Regions from separate parts of the Homo sapiens genome. Here region 1 is linked to region 2. Evidence: promoter capture Hi-C in 16 types of primary human blood cells and fetal thymus (Javierre and others, 2016). All regions are on one chromosome and are shown on one strand. The core of a region is centred on a gene start or on the middle of the fragment in contact, and the rest is flanking DNA. Distances in the headings are between cores, read along the strand shown. Region 1 has its middle 14 kb from the start of LINC01514. Region 2 holds the start of FBXW4 (F-box and WD repeat domain containing 4).

Region 1 (3,358 bases), core at 445-2,944, 530 kb before region 2:
ATAGAATATCTCTGCAGGGACACCCAAGAAAATGACGGCATTTTCTGGGAGGAAAATAGGGTGCCTAAGAGAGGGGGTGGAAGGAAGGCTTACTCATTACTGTTTTGAATGGCTTGAATTTTGAATTGCATGAATATATTATTTATTCAAAAAAGCTTAAGAGCACACATTTGGAACTGCAGACTTGGACTGCCATCCCAGCCCTGCCACATCCATCTTCCTCTGTAACGATGACTGCTGGACGTCTTCCCAGCGCCCTGAGAGGATGCAGAAGTTGCTTCTGTAGCACTTGGGGAGCTGGAGTTTTGTTGGTACTGCTGCCATCTCCACCAGATGATGAATGGGGAGAAACCTCTGGCTGGGAGAGGCCAAGGTCACTCATTAAAACCTCACAGAAGGTAACACACTGAGAGACAGACAGTGTGACCCCTGACCCCACTGACGTTGGCCCCAAGTCAGCCAGCAGGTTCACACACCCTCTCAGGGTTCACTTGCTGGGTGATGTTATCCAATGGACCCTCTTTCCTGACTTCAGTGACCACACCCAAGACCTGCAGGGACTCCAGACAGTTATGTCATAAAATTCACCACACAGGGCACAGAATTCCCCCATGTTTCCACTCTCTCTATATCTTACCAGTAAGGGAAGGGCAGAAATATGAAGGAATATAACCTGTAGTCATTTGGTATTTTCCAAGGGAAACTGCTTGTGATTGTGAGGTTAGTGATCTTTGCAGACATTCTCTCTAAAGTGAGTGTAGCCTTGGGCAATGCATGCTCTGGGCTATTCATTTAGGTGCCCCTGTAACCAAGCTCTGCATGCAGGAATGCTCTCTCATTCATCATTTATTCATTTGACAAACATTCATTCAGCCCCTTCTCTCTGCTAGGTATGTAAAGGAGAGCCAAGCTGCCTGAAGAAACGAGGGTCCATAGGTGAAGACAATTAAATAAACTCATCAGACTAAAGTGCAACACGTGCTGGAGAGACAGCCAACCTTTGTAGAAGTGCAAAGCACTTGACCCAGGGGCTGGGGTCAGCGGGACGTCTGGGAGGAAGTAAGCTAGCTTCAGCTAGCACCTGACAGTGGAGAGTGGAAGGCAAGCGCCGGTGAAAAGGAGCTGTTGTGAAGGTGGGATGTAAATGGCTTAGCCAGGGCCCAACACATTGTGTGTGCTCCATCGGTTCCCAGTGTTCAGAGGAAGGAATTCCCCCAGATGCCTGAGTTCAGGGCTGCTATCACCCTGAATGGCCACAAGGGGGAGCTCGTGCCCTGTAATTGTGTGTTTCAGCGCCTGTGCCGTGTGCCGCAAGGTACCAGTTGTTTCCACTAAAGATCGGTTACTTGCATCTTACAAAGTTGTTAGGAAGCGTCTCCCGGACATTTGCAGCCCCTGCTAAGCGTAGTGTGTTCCAGAGCCTAAGTGGCTCTGATAGCCTTGTCCTAGTGTTTTCTCGTAAAGCCGAGGATTCTTTCCTCTAAATTCTCGGGAATAGAGCCAATTACCCAAGTAGCCACCGATCATGTCCTTTTAATCCTTCCTGGTTCTTCCCATTCCTTCTGGGCATCCACAGGGCCCATCCCCTAGAGCAGCACCAATGGGGTTGGAGCACTGGCTACTGACACGTCTGGACCCTCCAGGCCAGAAAGGCTTCATTTCTCTGCACTTGCTAACCCCCAGCCAAGCCCCTAGTCCTTTCCAAGATGGGATAAAGGGGCATTCTCCCTCAAATGTCTTTCCTGAGTTAGGAATGTGCTCTTGTCATTTTGAACCCCATGATCTCTGCCCCAGTGGCTTCCAGAAAGGATCTGATGGCCACGTGCTTTGGAGTGAGACAGACCTTTTGTCCCGTCCTCACTCTGTTGTTGACCTTGTGTAAGCCACATAACCTCCATGGCTGTCATCCATGAAATATAAAGATTAAAAGATCTACCATCTTACTTGATGGGATGGTTGAAAGGACCAGTGTCCCAGGAAAAAAAAAAATACTCACAAACGACCTTATTCCTTTCCTCCCCTCACCCATGGAAGATCTTTAAGTGCATACTGAGGCTGACATACAGGTAACTCCGAAAAGGAGAGGGATCTGTTTCCTGACAGATGGCTTCAAGCCAAAGAGATAAACCTGGGTTCAGGCAGGGCTGGCAGGAAGTCAGGCACTCCCTTTCTAACTCTCTCCCTAGAGGAGTCTGGCTGAGGTTGAGAACTGACAAGGTCAGAAAAGGGACAGGGGAGGGATTTCCAGTGGGGAAGCACAGACATTGGAGGGCTTCTCCAGTCATTTACTGGGTCACCATCTGCCCCCTCAAGGAAGCAGGATCAAGACCTCCCGTGTGCCCAGCTCCGTACATGGCAGATAGAGGGCAGCCTCCTGGGCCAAGAGTGACCAGGGCCTTCATCTTCTTGGCATGGGTTCCATCAGGAACACGTTACAACCAACTGATGATTTATCCACCTTTAGAAGGGGACTGAGGCCATCCCAAAGGTGCCCTATATGAACTGCAGTTTGCCCCTCAGTAAAAATTACTTCACTGAGTTGCAAGCAGTGCATGGTGGCACACACCTGTAGTCTCGGCTACTAGGGAGGCTGAGGCGGGACGGTCACTTGAGCCCAGAAGATCAAGTCCAGCATGGGCAACATGGTAAGATCCCTTCTCAAAAATAAAAAATAAATTAAAATTTTTAAAAAATGAATATTTTCATTATCAGACAGATCAAGAAACAGAACATCAAAGTTGTAGTGAGCTATGATAATGCTACTGCACTGCAGCCTGGGTGACAGAGTGAGACCCTGTTTAGAAAGAGAGCGAGAGGAAGGAAGGAAGGGAGGGAGGAAGGGAGGGAGGAAGGAAGGGAGGGAGGGAGAGAGGAAGGAAGGAAGGGAGGGAGGAAGGAAGGGAGGGAGGGAGGAAGGAAGGAAGGGAGGGAGGGAGGGAGGGAGGGAAGGAAAACATTATCTGCACCCCAGGATCTCTCTGTATATCCCTTCCCCATCAGCCCCTCCTTTCTCCCTACATACAATTATGATCTTCACTTATGGTGAAGTTTTCCTTGTTTTTCTTTATAGTTTTACTCTTTGCGGAAGCATTCTTTTTGAATATAGTGTGTTTGTATGTTTTCAAAATTCCTACAAGAGGAATTATACTACATATATTCTTTTATGACTTCCTCCTTTCCTTTGACATTGTGGGATGATTTTATTTTTTTTATTGTGGAAAATTAGACACCACATAAGCTTACCATGTGAACCTTTTTTCTCCCAGCTTTACTGAGGAATAATTGACAAATAAAAATTGTATATGTTTAAGGTGTACAACTTGAAGTTTTGATATATGTATATGTCAACTGAAGAATG
Region 2 (3,250 bases), core at 321-2,820:
AAAGAACTACTTTTTAAAAAATGGGTGGAATAGGGGGCAATCTGAAAGCTCTTATTCCCCCAATTCCCTACATGTTTTTTCCTTCCTATTTAACAGTTTAAGTGGTTCAGAAAAGTTTTTCATTCACAGGTCTCAGACCCTACCAAAAACAGGCCAAATTGCAATACCATGTCTTGTACACATCCTGGACAGACTCCAGCCTCCTGCCTCAAGCAGGCCCCCTTTTTCGTGTCGCTCTGCCTATATGAAGTCATAAACTATGGCTGAACACTGGGACCGAGGGCTTCTCTTAAGGTCCGAGCCCTGAAGCTTAACAACCTTTAGAAAAGGGTAGGGAGGATGAAAGATGAAAGTCCACAAAAATTTATGATAGACCACTTAAGGAACCTGAGTCCTAGACCTGGACTCAAGGAATCGTCCAAAGCACCGTACCAGACTGGCTCCTCTGGGGCGAAGGAACCGGGGCAGCTAAACCTCTGCAAAAACACACAATCGAAAGCTGTAGGGAGTGCCTAAGATGGCTAATTGTGAGGAGCGGCCCACCCGGGAGGGTGCCTACTGAGGGATGCTCTCGGGAGGCTGCCTCAGATGGAGGCCTTGGGGAGGAGGGGCAAAGGGGTCCCCGAGAGTGCTCGGGAAAGGGTGTAGGCGGAGGTCAGGTGTAGGCCTAGAAACTCGGGGTGCGACACGACCCTGGGCCGACCAGGCCGCGGCGCCCCGCCCTTTCCCGGGACGCGGGGCCGGCTCGGGGCGGGGAGCGGGCGGGCGAGCGGACGCTTACAGGTCGGTGCCGAGCCGCGTGAAGCCGGAGTTGAGCGAGGCCCGGGCTATCCGGCGCCAGAGCAGATCGCAGCTGGTGAAGCGCCGCAGCCAGCGGCACACCTGGGCCAGGCGGCCGAGGGCCCGCATGTCCAGGTAGGAGCAGATGAGCAGCAGCAGCTCCTCCGGCAGGCGCCAGAGCGCAGGCCCCGCGGCCGGGCGGGCAGCCGACTCCCGAGCCGCCTCCTCCTCCTCCTCCTCCTCCCCGGCCGCCGCCGCCATGGCCACCCCTGTCCCCGCGATGTCGGCCCAAGCCTGACCCCCTCGTCCCTGTGCTCTTCCCGGCCTGGCGCCCTCCCGCCGCCTAGCCCTGACCCTCCATTCCTCCTTCTTCCCATACTCTCTTCCTTGTGCCTCCTTCCCGGCCCCTGCGCTCCCCTCGACTCCCTTGACGATGCCTCTCGCCCCTTCCTCCACGCTTCTGCCTCCCTCTGCTTCCTCCCTTGGGCATGCCCTCGCTCCCGCGTCAGCCCCCGGCCCGGCTGCCTCCTTCGCCGTCTGCGGCCCGGGCTTCCCTTCCGCCCCGCTTCCTCTTCCGCCTTGCCCCGCTCTCGCTTTTCCCTTCCCCTTCCCCTTCCTTCGCTTCCCCCTCGCCACCCTCCCTTCCTGCAGCTTCCTCGCCTCTCCGCCCTCGCCCTCGCCGGGCCCGCCGTTCCCGGGGGGCCCCGAGCGGCCCTGGCTGCCCATGAGCGGCCGCGGGGCCGGCCCGACGCGGAGCCCAGCCCGAGCCGCCACCGCCGCCGCCCCGGGAGGAGGCGACACCATGTCGGACCGGGTCACATGGGGCGGCGCGGGCCGAGCCCTGGGCACGCCCCTCACACCTGCAGCCTTGGAGCCACTTCGGGGTGCGGGCTGGGGCCGGGGCGCTGACACCACCCCCGCATCCCCGAGAGCGCTTGGTGGAAGCACAGGAGTTCGCGCTGCAAACACGTGAGGCCGGTTTCAGGGCCCTGCCTGAGGCCACAAGAGGACCCGCTGCCCTCAGGAAGCGGCCATTTGGAGCACCTGCCCTCAAGAAGCCCCTAGTTGGGTGGCCTTGCCCCTCTAGAAGCCCTCCTCTTCCTCGAGTGATGCCTCCTTTCCACGGGCCACATGTGAGGGCCCAACGAATCTGCAGCCCTAGAAGTTGACAGGTTCCATAGCTTAGGTTCTCACACAGGCCCGGAAGCACGGTCCTGGCGTGAGCTTGGGTGTTAGACGTATTTGGGGATTTGCAGTCTTCTAGATCCTGAGTCCATAACTTCAAAAACAGTCATGTATCAGGAAATGGCACAGCTAGGGCTTCTTATCAGTCACCACCCAAGTGCAAGTGGATTCTCCAAGGACTCAGCATCCATTCTTCATACCACCCATTCGATTCACATGGCATTAATCTGAAGGGAGAGCTACTGAGGTCTAGACCTGTGCTGTCCAACAGTGTCCTCCCTCGTCACATGTGGCTGCTGAGCATTTGAAATGTGGCTAATACAAATTGAAATGAGCTATAAGTGAGAAATGCACACCAGATTTTGAAGCCATACAAAAAAAAGAATGCAAAATATCTCATTAATAATTTTATATTGATTACGTGTTGAAGTGTTAATATTTTGGATACGCTGTATTGGGCTAAATACAATATATTTTAATGTAACTACTAGAAAATTTAAAATTATACATGGGACTTGCATTTGTGGCTCGGGTTATTTTTCTATTAGCATTGGGCTAGGCAGTAAAACTTGGAGGAGGGGAGGAAGATGCCAATTTCTGTCTGTTTATCCTGTACTCCAAATCCAGGTAGGAAGGATTGGAGAGTTTTCTTTTGTACTTATCTACATCTTAACACTCATTTTCAGGGAGCAGGGAAGAATAAAAATTGACCCTGAAAATTATTCAACACCTAGCATAGCCAAAGAGAAACCTAGGGAAGCAACTACATTGTATTATGGTGCTGCAAGAAGCATCATGTAACAAGGTCAGACCGGAATCTGGCTTTGCCCTAGAATTACTTTTTGATCTTAGCAAAACAACAACAAAAAGCCCCACCTATCTTGGCCTTTTAGTGTTCTCAATCTGTAGTGGAGATAATGCCTCTGCCTTACTTTCGAGGGATAAATGAGATGATCCCTGTAAAATGCTTTGAACTCCTCTAAGAAAATTCTTAATAATAGTTACAGGTCAAATCCTGTTACAAAAAAATGCCATCCCTCCCCCTCTCCAAATGCAACAAAGACTTTGTGTAGAAAACGATTTCCAAACTCAAGGCAGTGGTTTATTGAAAGCACTATTTTATAGATTTCAATGCGGCCAAAGAATTTAAGCCATGTTTTAGAGATCATTATAAAGAAATTTACTTATTCACAGGTACCATACTGTTAGAAGACTACTAAGGCAGGAATACTTCACATTTAGGTGATGTCATGAGTTCAATATTTATTGATTTTGCTACATTTGT

The links. Contacts are between HindIII fragments. The CHiCAGO score rates a contact against its expected background, and 5 or more counts as called.
Region 1: a contact is called between a fragment that was not itself captured here and the fragment with the promoter of FBXW4 in region 2, in 1 of 17 cell types (endothelial precursors). The highest score is 6.3, in endothelial precursors.

Annotation. Positions count from the first base shown.
Region 1 is chr10:101,160,667-101,164,024 of GRCh38, forward strand. No RefSeq gene overlaps it. Among named protein-coding and RNA genes, the nearest start is that of LINC01514, 14 kb to the right of the region's middle. The HindIII fragment of the contact is 3,083 bases long and covers 154-3,236 here.
Region 2 is chr10:101,693,600-101,696,849 of GRCh38, forward strand. It overlaps FBXW4 (F-box and WD repeat domain containing 4), which reads right to left and starts at 1,571. Exons shown (of 9, transcript NM_022039.4): 1 at 782-1,571. The coding sequence starts at 1,506. RefSeq lists an enhancer at 251-330 and silencers at 641-1,100, 1,381-1,430, 1,461-1,740. The HindIII fragment of the contact is 5,074 bases long and covers 308-3,250 here.